Regions from separate parts of the Homo sapiens genome. Here all the other regions are linked to region 2. Evidence: promoter capture Hi-C in 16 types of primary human blood cells and fetal thymus (Javierre and others, 2016). All regions are on one chromosome and are shown on one strand. The core of a region is centred on a gene start or on the middle of the fragment in contact, and the rest is flanking DNA. Distances in the headings are between cores, read along the strand shown.

Region 1 (3,083 bases), core at 204-2,703, 1.4 Mb before region 2:
CTATCTACAAAATATACAAAAAATTAGCTGGGCCCCACTGCGCTCCAGCCTGGGTGACAGAGTAAGACCCTGTCTCAAAAAGAAAGATGAGAAAGTTTTCTAATTGTCTACATCAGAATTCAAAAAATGAACAGTATGTCATTCAAGCTGAATAGTTGGCTCACTTTTAAAATAGGTTTGCTATTCTTGAGAAATAGGTGTTAGAAAAGGAGTCTGGTATTAAATGCCTAACAGAACAAGCTCCTTTAGATCCAGCCCTTTTCTTTTTCTGTTGAATGAATAGAGAGTTAATGTGGAAGGAGAAAAAAGAAGAAGAATTTTAATGAGGAGTGGTAGACAGGGATAATTTTTGTATTTTCTTAAAAATAATTTCTCATACATCCCTGTAGAGTGACAGGGAAGTGGTGCGCTGATATTTACTCCTATCTGATGGTTATCTCAGGATGACAAAGCTCATGAATCGGCTTTTAAGAACTGTTTCCATGTTGGAGTATTTCATCAACCGGAGTTGGGAATGGAGCACGTACAATACAGAAATGCTGATGTCTGAGCTGAGTCCTGAAGACCAGAGAGTAAGTAGAGCACTGACTTAAGCACCAGGAAAATGCTACTCACTTGGAATTTAGAATTATTTGATTTGGAAAGCTGATGAATGAATAAGACGTTTGGTTATAGACACAGATTTTGTTTTGCTTTGTTTTTCTAAGAAAATCAGTCAATGCTATCAACACCACCGTAGGAAACAAGTTTAATGTAAGTAAGAAATGTAGGTTCTTGGACTTTGGTTAAATCTTTAACTGCTGATCTGCCAACATGTTTTATCTACTGCACTTCAATCGTTTTGTCACTCCTTGATAGTTATCATTTCTACAAACCCTCAGTACCTCTGGGTGGCTGTGTTCTTCCCTTATCTGCCACAGCATATGACTTCAATGAAAAATAATGATTTTATTGCTTATAAACTCAATCATCCACTATTCTTGTCCAATCAAAATTGTTCTGCCTCTCCCAGCTACAGTTCCTTCCTTACCTTGTTAAAGCTAATCCCTACACCTATGCACTCTGCCTCACCTCAGACCTCCCTTCATCAGTGCTGCATCGTCGATCTCCCTCTCTATAGGATTTCTCTACAACAGTTCAGACTTTCATTTCTCAAGACAGGTCTTCAGTTTAATTCCTTAGCACCAGCACCACTTATTTCTTTAACTTCTTGGCAGTCACAAAGGATAAGTCCTAAAATCTTTGCATATTCTGAAATTCTTTTGTATATTATACATGTTCCTAGCCTTTTTCTCAGTCATGTATCCCGTTTTTAACTAAATTTTAAGGTTTTCACTCCATATTGATTGACATTTCCCACTAAGAAACAATTTTCTAAAATGTATCTTTTGTTTTATTTTGTACCTGACAGCATGTAGAAGAAACCAAGTCACACTGGGGAGTAAATATCAGATGGCTGTATTTTCCAGGTGTCATCTGTCACCCCTTTCTTTGACTAGGAAAGGGAATTCCCTGACCCCTTGCACTTCCTGGGTGAGGCGACGCCTTGCCCTGCTTCGGCTCACGCACGGTGCACTTCACCCACTGTCCTGCACCCACTGTCCGGCACTCCCCAGTGAGATGAACCCGGTACCTCAGTTGGAAATGCAGAAATCACCCGTCTTCTGCGTCGCTCACGCTGGTAGCTGTAGACTGGAGCTGTTCCTATTCGCTCTTCCAACGGGCTTAACAAATGGCACACCATGTGCGGGAGCACATGGCTTGGAGGGTCCTATGCCCATGGAGCCTCACTCATTGCTAGCACAGCAGTCTGAGATCAAACTGCAAGGCAGCAGTGAGGCTGGGGGAGGCACGCCCGCCATTGCTCAGGCCTGAGTAGGTAAACAAAGCGGCCTGGAAGCTCAAACTGGGTGGAGCCCACCACAGATCAAGGAGGCCCGCCTGCCTCTGTAGGCTCCACCTCTGGGGGCAGGGCACAGACAAACAAAAGACAGCAATAACCTCTGCAGTCTTAAATGTCCCTGTCTGACAGCTTTGAAGAGAGTAGTGGTTCCTCCAGCACGCAGCTTGAGATCTGAGAATGGGCAGACTGCCTCCTCAAGTGGGTCCCTGACCCCCAAGTAGCCTAACTGGGAGGCACCCCCCAGTAGGGGCGGACTGACACATCACACGGCCAGGTACTCCTCTGAGACAAAACTTCCAGAGGAATGATCAGGCAGCAGAATTTACGGTTCACCAATATCCGCTGTTCTGCAGCCACCGCTGCTGATACCCAGGCAAACAGGGTCTGGAGTGGACCTCCAGTAAACTCCAACAGACCTGCAGCTGAGGGTCCTGACTGTTAGAAGGAAAACTAACAAACAGAAAGGACATCCACACCAAAAACCCATCTGTATGTCACCATCATCAAAGACCAAAGGTAGATAAAACCACAAAGATGGGGAAAAAACAGAGTAGAAAAACCGGAAACGCTAAAAATCAGAGTGCCTCTCTTCCTCCAAAGGAACGCAGCTCCTCACCGGCAACGGAACAAAGCTGGACAGAGAATGACTTTGACGAGTTGAGAGAGGAAGGCTTCAGAAGATCAAATTACTCTGAGCTAAAGGAGGAAGTTCGAACCAATGGCAAAGAAGTTAAAAACTTTGAAAAAAAAATTAGACGAATGGATAACTAGAATACCCAATGCAGACAAGTCCTTAAAGGAGCTGATGGAGCTGAAAGCCAAGGCTCGAGAACTACGTGACGAATGCACAAGCCTCAGTAACCGATGCGATCAACTGGAAGAAAGGGTGTCAGCGATGGAAGACGAAATGAATGAAATGAAGCGTGAAGAGAAGTTTAGAGAAAAAAGAATAAAAAGAAACGACCAAAGCCTCCAAGAAATATGGGACTATGTGAAAAGACCAAATCTACGTCTGATTGGTGTACCTGAAAGTGACGGGGAGAATGGAACCAAGATGGAAAACACTCTGCAGGGTATTATCCAGGAGAACTTCCCCAATCTAGCAAGGCAGGCCAACATTCAAATTCAGGAAATACAGAGAATGCCACAAAGATACTCCTCGAGAAGAGCAACTCCAAAA
Region 2 (2,986 bases), core at 442-2,941:
AACACCTATGAGCTCTGAAAGAAAAATGTCAGCTCCTTAATCTTTAAGATCATGCATCTACAGGACTGGAAGAAAAAAAGTTACCTTCTTTTTCTCGATGTTTCTAATTTTGTGTTTAAGGCATATGAGTCCATTTTCAATATAGGTCTCATACGCTTGGGAAGGAGATGCAGCAGAACTCAGAGTAGACTGCAGGGGGCTCAAGGCCCGCTGGCTTTCCCCATGCTGACTGTGGTTCACTTGGGGCTTGGCTGACTTCATATTCCCCTCTCTTTCCTCCTCTGAATGGCCTGAAGGTGACTGGTAACCAAAAGGGGATGAAAAGAGTTGCACCATTGAAACAGATGAGGCTGAAGGAGGTGGGGGAAAGTTAAGTATAAAATTAGGACTAGAGGGACACAGCCAGGCAATAACTTCCCTGGAAAGTCTAGACCACTCCCTTAAACTCTTTTCCACAGAAGTGAGCTCGAAACCCAATGATGCTTGAGATACTTGTACTTCCATCCTACTTTTAAAGTAATTAGTGCCGCTAGCCAATAAGGATAGCCTTTACATAGGCAAAATCTCCCAATACGGAGGATGTTTCCAGAAATTCGATTTTCCACATAGGGAGGAAGAACTGCAACGGCTTCAGAGCTCCTTTCTTCTCATGAGGGCAGATCACATTCTAAATAATTCCCATGGCCACGTGATGACACCAAAAGAATAAGCTTTCCACACCGGGACCTAAGGCTGAGCCACTCAAACCTCTTTACATGATCCCTCACCACCAGCCCTAACCTCAATCCTGAACGTTTGGAAGAAAATCCAAACTCACAACATTCTTTTATAGCTCTAAGTGAACCAGCAGCTTCTTGAACAAGAATGCTAACTTCCCCGATTGCTCTGGGGCCTACAAGGCAATCCATCACTACTGGACATTTGCAGACAGGTACTCTCTCAACCTGCAGGAACCCCGCGTTTATTCTCAGTTGTTTGGTTTAGACTAGCCCAAAACCGCTTACACCCAACCAGTTTAAGAGCTCATTCTAGCGAGCCCTTCCCGTGCCCTAATCAGTGGCCCTTGCGCACTTACGTATCCGTCTCTCGACCTCCAAGCACCCGAGGTATCCCTTTCTCCCCCCTTAGGAGCATCCCCAAACCAAGGACAGAACAGGCCCCATGCACGCCAGCGCGCACCCCCTCAAGTCTCCGGGGGAGCCTGAGCGAAGAGCACCTCTCCCGAGCGGCCACGGAGAGCCCTGCAGGCACCGACCCCCACCCTTCCCACAGCCGCCCCGGGTACGCAGAAGCCGCTTCTGCAAGGCCCCGGGGGAGGCTGACCTGCGGAAAACGCACCGACCGCGGCCCTCGGGAGCCCCGCCCCGCCCCGGGGATGCCAAGCCGCCCCTCCACCTCGCAGCGGCGCCGGCCGCCCAGACCTGCCCACCCTCGCCGGGTCAGCCGCCTCCCTCCGCCGCGCCGACCGAGGCCGCCGCAGCCCGACTTCACCTCCCCAGGCAGCCGAGGCCGCCGCTGCCGCAGCCCGGGCCCGCCTTCCAAAGCCTGGGGGAGGCAGGAGCGCTGCGGAGGTGGACCGGCGCCACCCCGCACTCGCGTCTCCTCCTCCTGTCTCCTCCCTCTCCCCTCCCGGTCCTCGCCCGCGGCCTCTGCGGCGCCAGAGACCCAGCCGACTCAGCCGCTCGCGCCCAGGCCCGCCCACCGCGCCGCGCGTGGCTTTTGTAGGCCGCGCCCCGCCCCGGCCCGCTCCGCCCTCGGCCGCCCCGCCACCGCCTCCTTCCGGTGCTCCTTCCCGGCTGCAGCTGGCCGCCAGCGCTTGTCGGGTGTTAGTTCCGGGCCCAGCTTGGGCTGGTGGTAGGTCGGGAGAGGGCGCGGTCTCCCAGCCTTTGCGCAGATTGCGGGGCACCAGGTGGGGCCGAGGCGACGCCGAACGCCGGCAGGCCGGAAACCGCGCAGCCCCGCTGGACCTCGCTGATTGCCGGCGGCACCGGTGGTTTCGCGACCTTGAACAGGTGACTCCAATAGCTCCAGGAGGGCAGCGAGCCCTTCGCGGAACTACCAGATAAGCCATGCTTGAGGCTGTCGTAGCCTAGTGGGTAGTCGTGAAATGCAGATGCGCCTTTGCCCCTCAGATAGCATCTTTCATAGTAGGATGGGGAAAAAACACCGTTTCCTTACCGGGGAATCAGCCTGTAAGAGCAGAATGCCCCAAATCAGCATCGCCATAAAAACGGAGTAGGTGACTTCGCAACCTGCAATAATAGGATTGAGTTTATTCAAGCCGTATTATTTGTTCATGTGACACACATTAATTGACTGGCACGCAGAGAAAGCTGTAAAAAATCTTTGTAAGGTTACATAAAATTAAGAGAAAAGTCTGGAAATATGTAAAAGTTTATTGAGGAAAGGAAGGTGTTTCTGATACCAAATAAGAAACACACACACACACTCAGCAATACTTTGCCCCAACATGTGTTTACTTATTACACCAAGTGGAGTTTTTTAGGTCCTGATTGTCCCTGACGCTCTGATAAAAAATATTGAGACTAGCAAAAGAACAGAAAATTCAGAAGAAGAATCAAGGAAACAAAGGTCTAGTTTTAAAAGCCTTGGTCAACTTCACACAAATTAATTTTAACATTACTTAATACATTTTTTTGGCATCTATTATCCGTGTTCTTTTCGGTCCCTGGTGACATAATGTACCCTAATGTTGCATTTTAACTTTGAATCTCTGAATCCCATATGTGTTCTTCAGGGTCAGAGAAATACTAGATTTTCCCTTTTTCTCATTGTTTATAAACAGAGAAACGCAGAAGATGCTGAACATGAGGAGAGGAAGGCTATGCCTTCACCTTTGGTAACACAAAAAACAGTGGCCATAAGAAAAAATGTGAAGGACACACTGTTGGATCAATGAGTTGACACAAAGTTACAGCACAGCCTGAGTTGTAGTCCGAGCTAATGATGAACCTAAAAATGGTAT
Region 3 (3,122 bases), core at 117-2,616, 1.4 Mb before region 2:
TTTCTGACCCCCACGTCAGTTATAAAACTGGTATTCCCATCGATAAATTAAGCTTCTGAATGTTTGTTATGTATATGCCATGCCCGCTAAACTTGTTTAGCTCTGATAATCAAATTTATTTTCTGTACCTTTTTAGTAGTAACTGCACAAAAACTGACCCTTTTTCAATCTTTCAATTTCTACTCTTTCTGATTTGAGTAAAATATTAAATATCTGTATGTCTCTTCTCTTTAAAACAGAACTCTCCCTTAAACTCAAGTCCAACTCCAACAATACATCTCTCGCAGCACACCTACAGCCAACTTAAAAGAATGAGTTGTCCCCATTCATCTACTGTGACTACTTCCTCACCCAACTCTCACCTCTTAACTAAATTTGCTCTGAGCAAGGTAATTAACTTCCTTAGTACTGACAGACACTCCTCAGTCCTTATCTAACTGCACCTCTGAGAAAACACACTGCTTATCACTTCTTTTTCTTCTCGAAACATTCTCTTACCTTGACTTAAGTGATATCACATCCCCAATTTTCATTCTACCTGGAAAACCCTCTTTGGCTTACTGTGCAAATTCATCTTTCTCTCAAGATTCTGCACTAGGTCTCCCCCTTAACCTCCACACCTTCCCCAAATGATCGCCCACTCCTTCCATTTCAATCTGCATGTTGATTTATCCCAAATCTTGATTCTCTGCCCAGATCTCTCTGCAGATATGTATAACCCCTTGCCTTCTGTTACCTTTTCATTTGGACATTCCAAACACAATTCAGACTCAACAAGTCCAAAAATGAATACTTCACCCTGTAAAAATTGTTCCTCCTGTATCTATCTTAATGATAACACCATAAGCCCAACTACACAAGCCAGAAACATGGGTTATATCTTTAGACTTAAGCTATTTCTAAATTTCTCTTAAATCTGCCTGTCTTCTCTTCTTCAGGCCTACTGAGAAATTCCTTATGTCCAAGTATGTTCCTAGTCCCAACTGCCACAATCTATCACTACATTGCTTCAACAACCTCTAATCTTCAACCTTCCAATTCTCTCTCTATACTGTAATAATAAATTATCTTTTTAATACATAAATCTGATATTTCTCTTCAAATCTTTGTAAAACTTCCCTTCCCACTACACTTAAGAGCTTGGATTCTATCCTAACATGTTTTACAAAGCCCTTCAAAAACCAGGTCCTGCTAACCTCTCTTCAAACCCAATCACTCACAGTCTACGTTCCAACCATATTAAATCACTTTCAATTCCTTAAATATCCTATTCTCTTTGCCAGAAATATTTTTTCTTCCCCCTACCGCATCTCTACATTTGACTAACTCCTACTTACTCTTCAAGGTCCAGTCTACTCATCTCTACCTTGAGCAAGCAGGGGGAACAAAAAAACTTTCCATGGCCTTCAAAGTCTATCTGCTTCTAGAACGTTGTACCTTTATCACACTATTTCTAATTGCCTCTTTTTCTGTTTCCTCCACCGGATTGTTAGAGCAGGAACCATGTCTAACTTGATCTTTGTATCTCCAATGCCTAGCGAACAGGTATTCAATATTTATTGAGAAAAGGAAGGAAGGAAATTTTCCCAGAAACACCACAGTAGCACATCTTTCAAATCACAGCAGTATGTCATACTTAGGTAAGTAAATATATAAAAATAAGATCCACAAGAAGGATTTTCCTGTTGTCTACTGTCCCAGGACCTAGAACAGTGGCCATCACATAGTCAGTATAGCACTGTTAAACAAATGAATAAAACAGTGAATTACATTTCTAAAAGTTTATATAAATGTTATATTTGTATAATGAGCTTTCTAAATGCTCTTTTAATTTATATATAAGCATAAAGATACGGCAAGCAGTTAGTTTTACAAATCTCCTAATAATACATACAACCTATTCAACACTCCTCCCTTGAAAGTCTAGCTGGAATATATCATGTGGCTCCCTACCCATCTCTAGCTTCCTCCATCCCTGTTTTCCAGGGGATATCACTCTAGAATGGAGCACCTCGCCCCTCAGCTACTCCACCAGTCCCATTCCTGAAAGCTCAGCACTAACCTACCTCCAAGAAATTCATTCCATTTTGCATACTTGCCAACCTACTGTAAAAGTCACTGTCTGGCATAAACAAGGTATCCAATAACTTCTAGCTTTTCTAAAAGAAATTGCTGTCTGCTCTCTTTATAAAACCTGACTTTCTATTGGCAGCAGTTCCATTCCAATCCTTAGTCATTTCTGAGACTCACAGGTTACAGAAGTATCATGTTTTACCATATTTCTCAACCATCTCTCATGTTTTGTGCTATGTATTATTTGAAGCTCTTTAAACATTAATTCATTTAATCTTGTAAATGACTCTATGAAGCAGCAGGTACTATTTTTAATCCTACTTTTTGATGAGGAAATGAGGCACAGAACTGTCAAATAATTTTCCCAGGCTACATAGCAGGTGGTAGAACTTGAAACTATGCTCCAAACCACAGTACACACTGATTCTCACTTCCGTACTTGTTGCTATATTCCACTAACATCTGAATATATTCATAATTTGCTTAATGACTTCAGCACCCAGATCATTCAATATGCTTCTCCCCCACTCCATTATCATCCTTTGGAATTCATGCTCTGATGGCATTTATCCTATAGCATTCATTCACAATAAAACCTTTTTACCATGTAAGCTTAACAGCGCTTCTCCTCCTGTGACCTCCATCTTAATTCTATGGAAAGCCACCCATGAGCAAGGTCAACCCTTAAAACTGTTCCACCTCTAAAATCCAAAACACATTTACCTCCCCAAGTAGGAACTACCCTTCAAGCTCTTTCCTAAGATAAATCTGCTCTTCATTTTCACTGGTGTTCTCAAATCCTTTAAATCCTACCAGATACCCAATTTCATTGCTCCATTCCCACTCTATTTGCCTCTCTACTCAGTGTGGTAAGCCATTTTCAAAAATGTGTTTGGAAATACCTCAGATCATCAATGCTTGCCAGAAGTCATTGCTATTCTGTGACAAAATTTTCTAGTCATGGACAACGTAGAAAAGAACTTTTAAAGCTAAATTTATTCCATTTTAAAATGTGTCCTTTATTCTGAGATTATTTTATTCCATTTTGT
Region 4 (3,093 bases), core at 350-2,849, 1.5 Mb before region 2:
AGAATAGATGACAGAATTCTGTAACAAGCTGATATTTTGGGATGCAGAAGTCTTATGTATAAAATATCTATCCATATCCCCACATCTTACCCTTGTTTCTGGTTGTTCATTTTTTTCTTCTTAAACTTTGAATGAAACCTGTATGTTAACTTTTGAATAGCACTTTAAATAAAACCCAGCAACCCCTCACCAACTATACCATGATCTACGACTATTTCAACGACTCCTATACCAGATGGAATTTTTGGAAGTTTTAGAATAACAACATTAAAAATCATTCTGAATAAATATCAATTCACCTAAATCCAGGTTTAGTTTCTTTGTTTTAGGAAAATACTTTGTTTCTTTGAGTAATTCTCTATTTAGTAATTGGTCTGTGTTAAAATGGAATTATTTTCCAAGGTTTTTAGGTTTCTATTTCCCCTGGGAGTTTTCCTTTCTTTCAGTGCAACAGAGAAATGCCTGGGGGAAAGTTGTTGTTGTTGTTGTTGTTGTTGTTGTTAACAGTAACTTCAAGGGGTCTAGTGGCTGCCATTGCTCTTAGTAATTCAGCAGTTCTTATTTATTTATTTATAAGGAACCAGGCGTTAGACAACAAGATGATCTTGAAGCTGTACTCTTGGCATTATATTCTCAAGAAAATCACCATGACGACGTAAAATGAAACTTTATTTTTCCAGAAAATCAGTTGAATGGGAATTCCAGTTCTGGGAAATAAAGAAGGATATGCATTTTTGGCCCGGACCTTTCCTGTTTGCTTGGGCAGCAGTGGTACTGCTCAGTGTTGTTAATAATGGGACTGTGAACTTGAACCCCATGCTTACATCCTGGTCCCAACCTTTGCAGGCCTAAAGTCTCTGCTCATTCAGCTCCCCCCATTTTCTATCCATCCTGTATGCTGAGACTGTCAGGCCTGAGCTCCCTTTCTTTAGCCCCTATCTAAAAACTTTTAGCATTACCTTGGCCCTGAAATATTCCAGAAAGATGAAGTTAGTACAAAAACTTTAGCACATTAGCAGAAATATATTTTAAAAATAACTTAAATCAGGAGTTAATGCTTTTAATGAGTATGACAAGCCTGGCCGTTAATCAGTGTTTAGCGACTCATTTTCCTGGCTCTTATATCTGTAGTTGTCTTCTGCCCCTCATCCCAGCCACCGGTTCCCATTCTGACTCAGCTCTACCTTCATATTGCCAGCTTCTGCCTAGTTGGTATATTTACCTTTGGAAATTTATGTGCATAAATGGATCAGGGATTGCCAGTGAAATTCCAGTTTTCCAGAATAACAGCTTATGTAGAATGTTTATTTTTTAAAATGCACATAACTGACCAAGAAAGGCAGGGTTTTATGGTTGGTGCTTTCCTTATTTTTTAGGTCAAGGTAACTCCTCTTAGGGAAAGCAGTGTAGAAGAAAAGGGCTTTTGTGCCTGTATAAAAACCTGAAATAACTGGAAGCAGGTACTAGAAAAATGGAATCACAAATATTTATTGCTCTATTGAGCATATGTAAATAAATCTGAATTAAGAAGGGAAGGGAGGACATGAATCATTATTGAGCAATTACTGTGAGGAAGACACTTCCACAGACATTTAATTCCATAACGTAATATTGTAAGGTTGATATTATTATCACTGCTATACTAATCACGGAGCAAAAAGCTCAAAATGGCTAAGTAACTCCTTGAAAGTCTCTCAGACACAATTTTTATCCATGGCCACTTGATTCTGAAGCCCATGGTCTTTCCAGTCTACTCACGTACTTGGCAGTGGTAGAGATTAAAAGGTGCTTTCTCGCTGCGTGCAGTGGCTCAAGCCTGTAATCCCAGCACTTTGGGAGGCTGGGTTGGGCGGATTACGAGGTCAGATCGAGACCATCCTGGCTAACGCGGTGAAACCCCGTCTCTACTAAAAATACAAAAAATTAGCCGGGCGTGGTGGTGGGCGCCTGTACTCCCAGCTACTCGGGAGGCTGAGGCAGGAGAATGGCGTGAACCCGGGAGGCAGAGCTTGAAGTGAGCCGAGAGATTGTGCCACTGCCCTCCAGCCTGGGCGACAGAGCGAGACTCCATCTCAAAGGAAAAAAAAAAAAAAAAAAAAAAAAAAGGTGCTTTCTTAAGATATAGACTATGTTCCAAAGAGCTCGTATCCAAGACAAATAGAACACGGCAGAATTATACACGTGTGGTGGTGGGGAAACAGGTCATATTAAGTCTGGTGGAGTGGAGGGAGGCATATGAGAAGACTTGGAAGAGTGGATAGAGTGTGGATAGGTGAGATGTGCACACGTGCCTGGCAGGGCAGCTGGAGCTGGGAAACCCAGGCGTGTTTGGGACACAGCCAGTAGTCCATCTTGGCAGCGCATGTGTTACGTGTAGGGAAGAAGTTAGAGATCAAGCTGGAGGGGAGGATGGGCCATACTGTGGAGATTTTGCATACCATGCAGAGGAATTGTATTTAATTCTCTATGCAGTAGAGATCCATTGAAGGAGGGCCATGTGTGCGCATGCATTTTTGTGTGTAATTTGGGGTTGTTTGCTCATTTGTTTTCATCATGGAAAAATACTGATGAAAGTGGGCTTCAGGAATATTAATATAGCCAGGGGCCGGGGGAGGCAGTGGATTAGCATAGGGAGTAGACGGAGGAAGCGAGACCCATTACCAGAGAGGAGTAGTATGGAAGACTAGAATGAGGGTGAGGCAACAGGTATAAAAAACATCTCCATGTTTTGGGAAAGAAAAAAACAATAGGACATGGCTACTGCTTTGCATATGGGGTTGCACCTATCAAATTAACTCCAGATTAGAACATGCATACTTGTCATGTTTTGCATTTCTAGTACCAGGGATTTAATTCTTTTAAAATTCAATTCTGTTGAAATTTTACTCCATGAAGCAATGCGTTTTTGAGAGCTAATCCTGATATATTCAAATCTCAATGACTTAAGTTTATGGAGTGGACTTCTTTTAAATTAGTGATTCCCTGATTTGCCCGACTGTTGGAATTTCCAGGGCATGTTGAAAATACAGATTATCAGACTCTTAACTCTGCAGATGTATTTAGTGATTCTAAAATGGTACCCAGGAATCTGGA
Region 5 (3,194 bases), core at 146-2,645, 1.5 Mb before region 2:
AGGGGATTACACACGGAGTGAGTCACTAGGGTTCATCTTAGAATTCTACCTTCCTTAGCAAACTAAACAAATAGGGAATTTACTGGAAGTAAAGGGGATAGCCACACAATCAATGGAATGGCTAGAGAACTGGCATGAGAAAGGGCAGGAAACCCTTTCCATTTCCTAAGAGCTATCAAAGTCCTGTTTTTTTGTATCTAGAAAAGTATTAATTGACTAGATTATCTGGCCAATGTGCCACAGCTAAATGAATCAACTGTGTGTGTGTGTGTGTGTGTGTGTGTGTGTATAAAACTTTGTGTCCTTTTACTCAAAGTTAAAAATTTTATCCCTTGGCTAAGAGGGCAGAGCATCTTGAGTAACAGCTCCCAAAAGACTACCCACGTGGGAAGAGATGATGTGAGGTGATGACCAGTAGAGGAAAATGCTGGAAAGCCACAAAACAAATGTCCCCCAAAGTCATCATAACCAAAGATTTTATATTTTTTCAAAGTGCAAAGGCAGAGAAATATTATCCTTCAACAATGTAATAATAATTTAAAATCTGGCAAATCCTTTATATATATGAACTCAGGTTTTGAAAATTCTTCTAAGTAGATGATTAATATATATCCTCTGGCTTTATTAATGACAGAAATCTTATTGTTGTATTTTATTTATTGTTGCTACACAAGAAGGACAGATAGCTTTCCATGTTTTAAAACAGAAAGATGATTTAGGTATTCTTTGCCCCTATATTAGTCCTTTTCAGAGAACCACTATCCAGTCATCTGGCTCTTACTTTCCACATTACTTTTATCCTATGTTTGAGATGGTATCTGCTGCCCCAATTTTCTAGCCTTCACATCTTCCATCGTTCCAAGAGCTTCCAAAATCTCTTTCTCTATCAAAAAGACAAATGTTTATATTCTCCTGACTCCAGCTGTCGACAGCGTGGCTCATAAGATTCACTTACCACTGTTTATACAAAATAGTATAATTTCAGATATTTTAATGACAGGTTGGAGTCAACCTTCCCTTTAGTAAGCAAAAACATAACTCATGCCAGATTCCAAGCATTCTGGAAGTCAGAGCTTACACCTGCATTTCCAGGGATTCCTGGCCAATTTGTAGTTTCACCATCAACTCCCACTCTGAAGTCCTGCTTCCGTGCAATTCTTCCTCTCCCTGCTAATTGGCTCACTACCTGTCAGGACTCCTCCTTCCATATGACTTCCAATGGCCGACGCTGCTCCACTTTCCAAAAGTACCACCAATATAACTGTGTAGCAAGCACTCCCAGAAGGGGTGAGGTGACACAGAGAAATCATGGCACAAAATGGGTTGTTTTTTTTTTAATTTGAAAATGTGAATTTACTGCCTTGTCTCATCATCCACAGCCCAGTTTGCTTCATGGGCATTCCCTCTCCCACCAGGCACTCAAGCTCTCTTACTCCTCTCTGGAATGTAGTCAGGCAGCGTTTAGTAACTATATCCAGAGATGAAGTCATTGAAAAAGGTAACTGAACTTTGTAATTAATCACAGGCACAAGGTATACATCTTAAAAATATATGTACGTTTCTCTAAAGCACTAGGAATGTCATTGTGTGTGTGTGTGTATGTATATTTTTTTTTATATATTTTTTTTGAGACTGAGTCTCATTCCATCACCCAGGCTAGAGTGCAGTGACACGATCTCAGCTCACTGCAGCCTCCGCTTCCTGGGTTCAAGTGATTCTCCTGCCTCAGCCTCCTGAGTAGCTGGAATTACAGACATGCACTACCACATCCAGCTAGTTTTTGTATTTTTAGTAGAGACGGGGTTTCACCATGTTGACCAGGCTGGTCTCGAACTTCTGACCTCAAGTGATCCACCCACCTCAGCCTCCCAAAGTGCTGGGATTACAGGCATAAGCCACGCACCCGGCCTCATTGTGTATTTAAAAGCTAGTATTGAAAGTGCCACTCTGAATGTGTACTAAAGAAAGATTAAGCTATGCACATGCTACACATATAATGTATGTGTGTGTACAAATATAATGTGTGGATGCTTTTGTATGTATGTACACATATGCCAAAATGTGTATGTATACATGTCTCCACTTCATCTTTTTTTTTCTTCTTCTAATATTGCTGTGGCTTTCTATTTTGTATCTGATGGAAATCTGGAAAGACTTTCTCAAGAAAGTGAAAGAGGAATTTCTGTAAATTTAGATTGATCTTCTTTATTTATTTAGATTGATCTAGTTATTCTGTACATCATGGTTTCTGTTTTAGTGTGTATATACTACTCAGTATTTTTCCCTTCTCTGCAGGAAAAAAAATGAGTTTGTTCTCCCTCTCCTTCCTCTTATCTCTCCAGCTAATTCTCTTATTTCTTTTTTTATTCTCTCACACTGAGGTGTTTTTTGCAGACTTTATCACAACCTGACAATGTTCTCAATGTTTCCTTTGATGCTGAGTTCTTTTTAAAAGACGTATGAAATGTAAAATCTCCCTTCCTTTCCCAGATCAATATTTGAAATAAAAAGCAGGGCAAACACCTTCAAAACGAAAAGTCTCCTGTTTCCTGTTGCCTATTCCAGCAGCAGGACTTGGGTTGCTTGCCGTTTTTCCTGCTTTTCATTTCCGAGGAGGCAGGAGCACCTCAGATGCTCCAGGGAATTGTTGATTCCAGAGAGAATTGCTGATGGGTGTAGCACCCCCTGGGTGCGTGCATCGAAGCTGTGAACAAATCCCCCCTTTCCTCACTAGAGTCTCTACAGAGAAATCACCTCAGCCCATGTATTCTGTGACAGCTGAGGATGGCAAATGTGGGAGCAATGTGGGCTTCTCCTGGTGCTAAGTCTGAACACAGAGCATAGGCCTTGCCTCAAATGTTTGCAAACATCCGTGTTAATGCTCAGCACGCCACTTTACACCGAAGGAGTCACACCAGTGTGACACACGACTTCAAGACTTCTGAGGAGCTAGAAAGGAAGTTTATGTATTTGAGGCCTTTCCCTTGGCTTCACTCCATTTAGAACTGGGTGACTCAAAATGACAAATAAGGTGTAGTAATGAAGACAAAAAGCTTCTTTAAAAAAATTATTGTTAATCCACTTCTCTTTTTGACCTCTGAACAGCATTATACTAGGGAGTTTACCCAGTCCTCTCAGTGAATAAGCTTGTGCTGAAATCCTGTGTTCTCAAGCTGGCATGTTATGTTGAAATG
Region 6 (3,179 bases), core at 495-2,994, 1.4 Mb before region 2:
ACTTAAAGGACCAACAATCAGTCTACAATTCTAATCCTTTCCTATTAAAATTCCTGTGGATAGATGGTGTTAGTTTATAGCCAAACTTTGTTGGAAATAATTTGAAGAAAAAAAATTAAAACCTAGAGAAGGCTCATTCACGATTCAGAATTTTCTGTTTAAAAATCTTTCAAAGTATGTTATATCACTTATTTTCATCAGTTAACGTCATGGCTCTTAATGATATATTTTTTAAAGTGATGCTTCTGTTATTTTCTGCAAAACGTCATTCTGCATAAACTTTACTGCAAAACAGACCCATCACTATTTCTCCTTCTCTCCATTATATTGTTTATCCTGTTTTCATAAATTTATCTTTAAAAAAATCCATTTGAAAAACTGTTACTTGTGATATCCTGTTTTCTAAAACCACTATTTTAAATCTAGTTTTTCAGTCTTGTTATTTACCTGGAATTTTGTTTCCCCATTTCCTTAAATGATTTAAACTTTGAGGATTGGCTGCTGATTCTTCTACTGCCATTCAGTACTACAAAAGGAAAACTGATATTGGTACACATATTCCAAATACAGCTTTTAATAGTACCTGTGTGATAGCTCCCTCTCACTGTTTTTAATCTTTTATAATGTGAAGATTTAGAACCAATCCTTAAATAGTAAGAAAGTTAGAACACAATCTAATACAGAATCAATCATATTCAGGACACCCTGAATGCAAATACTTCATAATACAGTTTTATAGTTTAATGGACAATGTTTAACATGGCACCTCTCAAATCTGATATATCTTGTGGTGCTTACAATTTGCCTTACACTTTCATTTAAAGTTACCCTGTTCTCCACTCACCACATGTATAAAATATCCTATTTTTTCTCTTAATGTTTTACAAACCGGTAATTTTCACTATCAGTAGCGGATCTTTTTATAACTCACCCTATGTTGCCCAAAATACACCAATAATATAATGATTAGATTAAAAAACTTGGCATCTTTTTTAAAAAAATGTGCTTTCTTTTCCGTGTATAAGATTCTACTATACCATTTGTGAATGACACCCTAGTTACATAACACCTACATATCTGCCCCTGTGAGAATTTACCTTAGTCTTCTAAGACTCTATCTTCAACAGTTAGATAAGTCAATAACCAGAGTTCAAAGAAAAGTAGTTACTTTTTAAGACCAAATTATTGGATAACTGGTCTTGTCAATATGGCTTAACATTAATATGGCTATAACATAGGGACTAGCCCGTTTTTTTTTTTTATTAACAATGTGACCTGATCACAATTCTTTAAAGTCTAGACTAGTTTTCCGTATGTTTTCCACATTTTATTCTGACATCATATCTTTTAAAAACAAAAGGATGCGAACATTTGCACTTCTCAATGTTTTTTTTTTTCCCATAGATGTAGTTTCACTTATTTCCTTCAGGCTTTTTATCAGCAAGAAGCAATGTCTGATTTTGATACCACCCATTTGCTATGAAAATATAAGAAGGCGTCATCTTCAAAGCAACACTCCAGTTGGGCTTCTTCATCGTTTAGCTGCATGATTTCTTCTACGACATTTGTAACAGACACAACGTATATAGAATTTCAGTTTGGGTTTTTTTATCCTTTTTTTTCTTTTTTAAAATAAGTATGTTTTCTGCTTATTTGTGTTTTCTTTTCTTTGAATATATTGCACAATATTTTATTATTAAAAAAAGGTTTTATGTCTCAGGCAAAAAGTTTTTCTCCTTCAATCGGGAGGTGTTAATGTGTATTATTTTCTAAAAGAGGTAAGTGGTTGTCTGTGTGGCCATCCTCAAAAGGAACCTAAGGAGAAAAGGAGGGAAAAAAAGACCAAAGAATTAGTTTTATTCCTTATACTCTTTCCTCTAAACACAAGGTTTTATTTTGGGCAATCCTTTCTAGTAACCAAAAGCTACTATTTCTCTCTCTCTCTCCCCCTATTTCTCTATCTCTCTATCTCTATCTTTTTTGAGGCAGGGTCTGCTCTGTCACCCAGGCTGGAGTGCAGTGGTACGTACGATCATAGCTCACTACAACCTCAACTTCCTGGGCTCAAGTGATCCTCCCACTGTGCCCTCCCAAGTAGCTGGGACTACAGGCTTGCACCACCTTGCCTAGCTAATTTTTTCTATCTTTTGTAGAAATGGGGCTCTCACTATGTTGCCTTGACTGGTCTCAAACTCCTGGGCTCAAGCGATCCTCCCGCCTTAGCCTCCCAAAGTCTTGGGATTACAGGTGTGAGCCACCATGACTGGCTCATAGACTTAACAATGATTCTAAGATTTAGAGATCAGCACCATGTATACTACACCACTTACAGAATTGACAGGTTTATAGGATCCAAGTCTGAAACGACAGCAAATTATTTCAACTATAAATTTTCCAATTCCATGTAACATGCCTGTAATAAACAATAAGTTTATGCTTTTAATTATTTCCTAAACTGTTATTTAAGAATAAATAACTATAATGGAATAGATTACGGAAGAAAACAAAGCAGTTTGCATTATTCACTTCCATGGTTAAAAATAATCAAGAAAGATTTTAAAACAAATGGATTTCTTTTCAAAGTCACAAGGCCACATAATTCACGATCTCAGCACAATCTTTTTTTTTTTGAGACGTCTCACTCTGTTGCCCAGGCTGGAGTGCAGTGGTGCAATCTTGGCTCACTGCAACCTCCACCTCCCAGCTCAAGCAATTCTTGTGCTTCAGCCTCCCAATTAGCTGGGATTACAGGCATGTACCACCATGCCCGGCTAATTTTTTATATTTTCAGTAGAGACGGGGTTTAGCCATGTTGGCCAGGCTGATCTGGAACTTCTGGCCTCAAGTTGATCCGCCAGCCTTGGCCTCCCAAAGTGTTGGGATTATAGGCATGAGCCACTGCACCGGGCCTAAACACAATCTTTTCAAGGTTTTCCCACACCAATACAATTTTGGAAAATAAATGATGTCAACAACACAAATTTAAATAGATTGAAATGAAGCACTAACAAAGAATTTCGAAAGAAAAGCTATTCATTCATTTAAAAATATGATTCTAAGTATAATAAACTACCCAGCTCCATCTAATACTGAATAAGGACTGAAGATGAAAATAGAATTGTTTCCTTTTTCTCTATTGTACTTAACTCCCAATTTTCATCATTACAATTCGACAAATA
Region 7 (3,051 bases), core at 1-2,500, 1.4 Mb before region 2:
CTTGCCCACTGTTATGTGAAAATTCCCTGCTACTTTATTGACATATAGATGGCCATGAATTCTGCATGCATTTGGAGACTGTGATGAATCATCTTCTCTGTTAAAATAAGATATATTATTTAAAGCACATTCAATACAGTTACCATTTTATGATGAGAAAAATGTGTATAGAAAAAAAAATCCCTAAAGATCATTTTTTAGGTAATATTCTAAATGTTAAAAATAGAATAGTTTCCTGAAGTCTAGACATTTATAAAAATTATACATCTATAAAATGGGAAAAAAGTATTTAATATCTATTACATTTACATAAATTTGAAATTCCATGGTTCTTCAACTCTAACCAGAGGACTAAGTCCAGTGACAGAAGACTAAAACAAAATAATTAGTCCAAAAAGACATATTTTTTTCATTTATTTCTGGTACTGTAGCAGGGAGAGGGAGGGAGGGCAGAAACATGATTGAGGTAAAGGAAAGGCATGCCACCTAAATTCAAAGAGACAGTGACATTTTCTTCCTAAGCAAATGTAAAATCTTGTATATTTTTATTATGTTTATGATTATAGCATTTCCAAATATCCACGAATCTTTTTTTTTTTTCTTTTGAGACACAGTCTTGCTCTGCTACCCAGGCTGGAGTGTAGTGGTGCAATCTTGGCTCACTGTAACCCCGCCTCCTGGGTTCAAGCTATTCTCCTGCCTCAGCCTCCCAAGTAGCTGGGACTGCATACATGCACCCACCACACCCAGCTAATTTTTTTGTATTTTTCGTAGGGACGGAGTTTCACCATGTTGGTCAGGCTGGTCTCGAACTCCTGACCTCAAATGATCCGCCCACCTTGGCCTCCAAAAGTGCTGGGATTACAGACGTGAGCCACTGCGCCCAGCCTCTAATCTTTAATTAAAATACAAAAACGGGAAATAAAACAAAATTTCTAACCAAAGCTTATATATCCTCAAAATAGTAAATGAAACTAATTTTTCTTAAAACTCAATATAATTTTATGTGGGGGTATACCACGCATAAAAAAGAAAATTAAATGCAAATAAATATTTGTGATAATTCTGATCAAAATCACAGGCTATAAATTTAAGAGCAAAAGGCGTCTTTATAGTACAGAATGATTCTATTTTCCCTTCCTAAGAAAAATAAGATTCAGAAAACTAAACCAACACTTTAGTTTTAACTATGTCAAAGTAAATTCATAATAAACAGTTGCACATTTAAAATACAGATCTCACCTTGGTGGAAGAGCTGTTGATGTACTTTTAAAAGCACTTTTAAATATCACATCTTGAAGTGAATGCTCTTCTTGTAGCCTACTCTGAATCAGCTGCAGCATCCTAAATAAGAAGCAATAATTTAGAACTACAGAAAGGTACACAAAGAGAGCTGACACTTATTCAAAAATGACAATGTTTAGCTGACTTAGTTAAATCATACATTTATTATTACAGGATTTCATATTCTAAAATAACATACCAAGTTTTCTTTGGTCATTTCCTTGAAAGCAAATGAGGCAGGGTGGCTAAGAGGTCTAATAGCTGAGCTCCATAAGCTTGTTTGATTCCATCAGTAATGGATGTGCCATCAGGACCACCAAAGTAGGGCTTCTACTCACTTAAGTATCTCAATTCATCTTTCATGCATACATGCACAATTAACAAAATTCTTATCTTTGTCAGACACTGAATGAAATATTGTAGATACAAAGAGTAGGACAAATAAGGGGCTACACAATGGACTTGATGGACTTGAAATGGTACATTACTCAGTATAAACTCATACCACAAGTAACTGATTTTCACTACAAAAATTTTTCTCTCTACAATACTTCTACCATTGAGCCATGTTAACTCCTACAATTTTCAGCAATAACTTTGTGTCATTAGATGTAGTCCTATTTTATCTCTTTTAATTCTATTTCTTCAAATAACTAATATTCCAAATCATCTGTAGTAAAGTTCAAACTTGGTAAGTACAAATGTTATACACAGTGGGAAGGGAAGAATAAACAGGCAGAGCACAGATAATTTTTACAGCAGTGAAATCATTCTGTATGGCAGTATGGTAGATACATGTCCTTATACATTTGTCAGAACTCACAGAATGTACGTTCAACACCAAGAACGAACTCTAATGTAAACTATGGTGATGATGATGTGTCAACATAGGTTCACTGATTATAACAACTATATCCAATCTGATGCAAGTTGTTGATAATGGGGGAACCTGTAGCGGGACGGGTATATAGGAACACTACTTTCTGCTCAATTTTGCTGTGAGCCTAACTACTCTAAAAGAAAAATACATACATGTAACTTGGAAAAAAGTTATAAACATAGGTACTCACAAAAAGAAAGCAAATGTGAATCTCATAATACTTTACCATCCCACCATAATGATAAAATAAGTACTTTCTAGATGTGCAAGCAGAAGATTAAAAACTTATGCATCATCTATCTAGAAAATTAGTATAACAGGCCTATGTAAAATAACAACTCATATTTATACTGTATAGTTTGGAATAAAATAAATCTGAAATCTCGACATAAAAAGTAGAAACCAGAAAGGTTCTGTCCAGGGTTTGAAATTTACAGTTAAAGAGAGATTAATTGTGATCCTAAATATTTTAGGAAAGTATTATAGAACACCAACTGAGAGAAAATTTAAATCTCTTAGAAAATTCTAGAAGTAAAGAACATTTTGGTATGCACATTAGTTAGGAAGATATCTACCTTGGGTATCTCTAGGCCATTCAAGAGCTATTTAATAATGTTTAGAATCAGAACGTGATAATCTAGGATGCTTCAAGAAGCCAGATCCCATCTTCAGATTCAGACATTTAAAGACATTGAATCTTTGACATTGAATCTTTGGATTCAATGCCAGCAGAAATGGAAATCTTCACTTTTTTTGTGTCTTGTAATTCGAGAGATCAACTTTTGAAGCATGGCAGTGATCAAGGGGTTTGATGACAACAAACTATACATACGTGTATATGTATGTATATATTATGTGTGTTTATGAAAAAAATTTCTGCCTTCACT

What was found. The method cuts DNA at HindIII sites, captures the fragments that hold promoters and counts their contacts. A CHiCAGO score of 5 or more calls a contact.
Region 1: a fragment that was not itself captured here is called in contact with the fragment with the promoter of CAPRIN2 in region 2 in 2 of 17 cell types (naive CD4 T cells and naive B cells); the score reaches 5.4 in naive CD4 T cells.
Region 3: a contact is called between a fragment that was not itself captured here and the fragment with the promoter of CAPRIN2 in region 2, in 16 of 17 cell types (total B cells, non-activated CD4 T cells, activated CD4 T cells and 13 more). The highest score is 37.3, in total B cells.
Region 4: a fragment that was not itself captured here is called in contact with the fragment with the promoter of CAPRIN2 in region 2 in 1 of 17 cell types (non-activated CD4 T cells); the score reaches 5.0 in non-activated CD4 T cells.
Region 5: a contact is called between a fragment that was not itself captured here and the fragment with the promoter of CAPRIN2 in region 2, in 1 of 17 cell types (monocytes). The highest score is 7.5, in monocytes.
Region 6: a fragment that was not itself captured here is called in contact with the fragment with the promoter of CAPRIN2 in region 2 in 7 of 17 cell types (total CD8 T cells, activated CD4 T cells, naive B cells and 4 more); the score reaches 9.9 in total CD8 T cells.
Region 7: a fragment that was not itself captured here is called in contact with the fragment with the promoter of CAPRIN2 in region 2 in 11 of 17 cell types (total B cells, naive B cells, activated CD4 T cells and 8 more); the score reaches 13.6 in total B cells.

Annotation. Positions count from the first base shown.
Region 1 is chr12:29,321,353-29,324,435 of GRCh38, forward strand. FAR2 (fatty acyl-CoA reductase 2) reads left to right here. Exons shown (of 12, transcript NM_001271783.2): 10 at 443-572. Among named protein-coding and RNA genes, the nearest start is that of FAR2-AS1, 5.0 kb to the left of the region's middle. The HindIII fragment of the contact is 3,687 bases long and covers 1-3,083 here.
Region 2 is chr12:30,753,260-30,756,245 of GRCh38, forward strand. CAPRIN2 (caprin family member 2) reads right to left here and starts at 1,692. Exons shown (of 19, transcript NM_001385503.1): 1 at 1,492-1,692; 2 at 85-300. The coding sequence starts at 261. It overlaps LOC645485 (a long non-coding RNA gene), which reads left to right and starts at 1,815. Exons shown (of 2, transcript NR_135046.1): 1 at 1,815-2,012. RefSeq lists enhancers at 1,066-1,145, 1,149-1,318 and a silencer at 1,246-1,925. The HindIII fragment of the contact is 2,894 bases long and covers 709-2,986 here.
Region 3 is chr12:29,373,809-29,376,930 of GRCh38, forward strand. All of the region lies in intron 1 of ERGIC2 (ERGIC and golgi 2), which reads right to left. Among named protein-coding and RNA genes, the nearest start is that of ERGIC2, 5.8 kb to the right of the region's middle. The HindIII fragment of the contact is 2,633 bases long and covers 51-2,683 here.
Region 4 is chr12:29,300,158-29,303,250 of GRCh38, forward strand. All of the region lies in intron 4 of FAR2 (fatty acyl-CoA reductase 2), which reads left to right. The region is part of intron 3 of FAR2-AS1 (FAR2 antisense RNA 1); the gene reads right to left. Among named protein-coding and RNA genes, the nearest start is that of FAR2-AS1, 16 kb to the right of the region's middle. The HindIII fragment of the contact is 3,345 bases long and covers 1-3,093 here.
Region 5 is chr12:29,239,196-29,242,389 of GRCh38, forward strand. The region is part of intron 1 of FAR2 (fatty acyl-CoA reductase 2); the gene reads left to right. Among named protein-coding and RNA genes, the nearest start is that of FAR2-AS1, 77 kb to the right of the region's middle. The HindIII fragment of the contact is 3,311 bases long and covers 1-3,051 here.
Region 6 is chr12:29,339,404-29,342,582 of GRCh38, forward strand. ERGIC2 (ERGIC and golgi 2) reads right to left here. Exons shown (of 14, transcript NM_016570.3): 13 at 2,331-2,413; 14 at 1-1,815. The coding sequence ends at 1,753. Among named protein-coding and RNA genes, the nearest start is that of FAR2-AS1, 23 kb to the left of the region's middle. The HindIII fragment of the contact is 4,925 bases long and covers 1-3,179 here.
Region 7 is chr12:29,356,381-29,359,431 of GRCh38, forward strand. It overlaps ERGIC2 (ERGIC and golgi 2), which reads right to left. Exons shown (of 14, transcript NM_016570.3): 7 at 1,243-1,344; 8 at 2-97. Among named protein-coding and RNA genes, the nearest start is that of ERGIC2, 23 kb to the right of the region's middle. The HindIII fragment of the contact is 614 bases long and covers 944-1,557 here.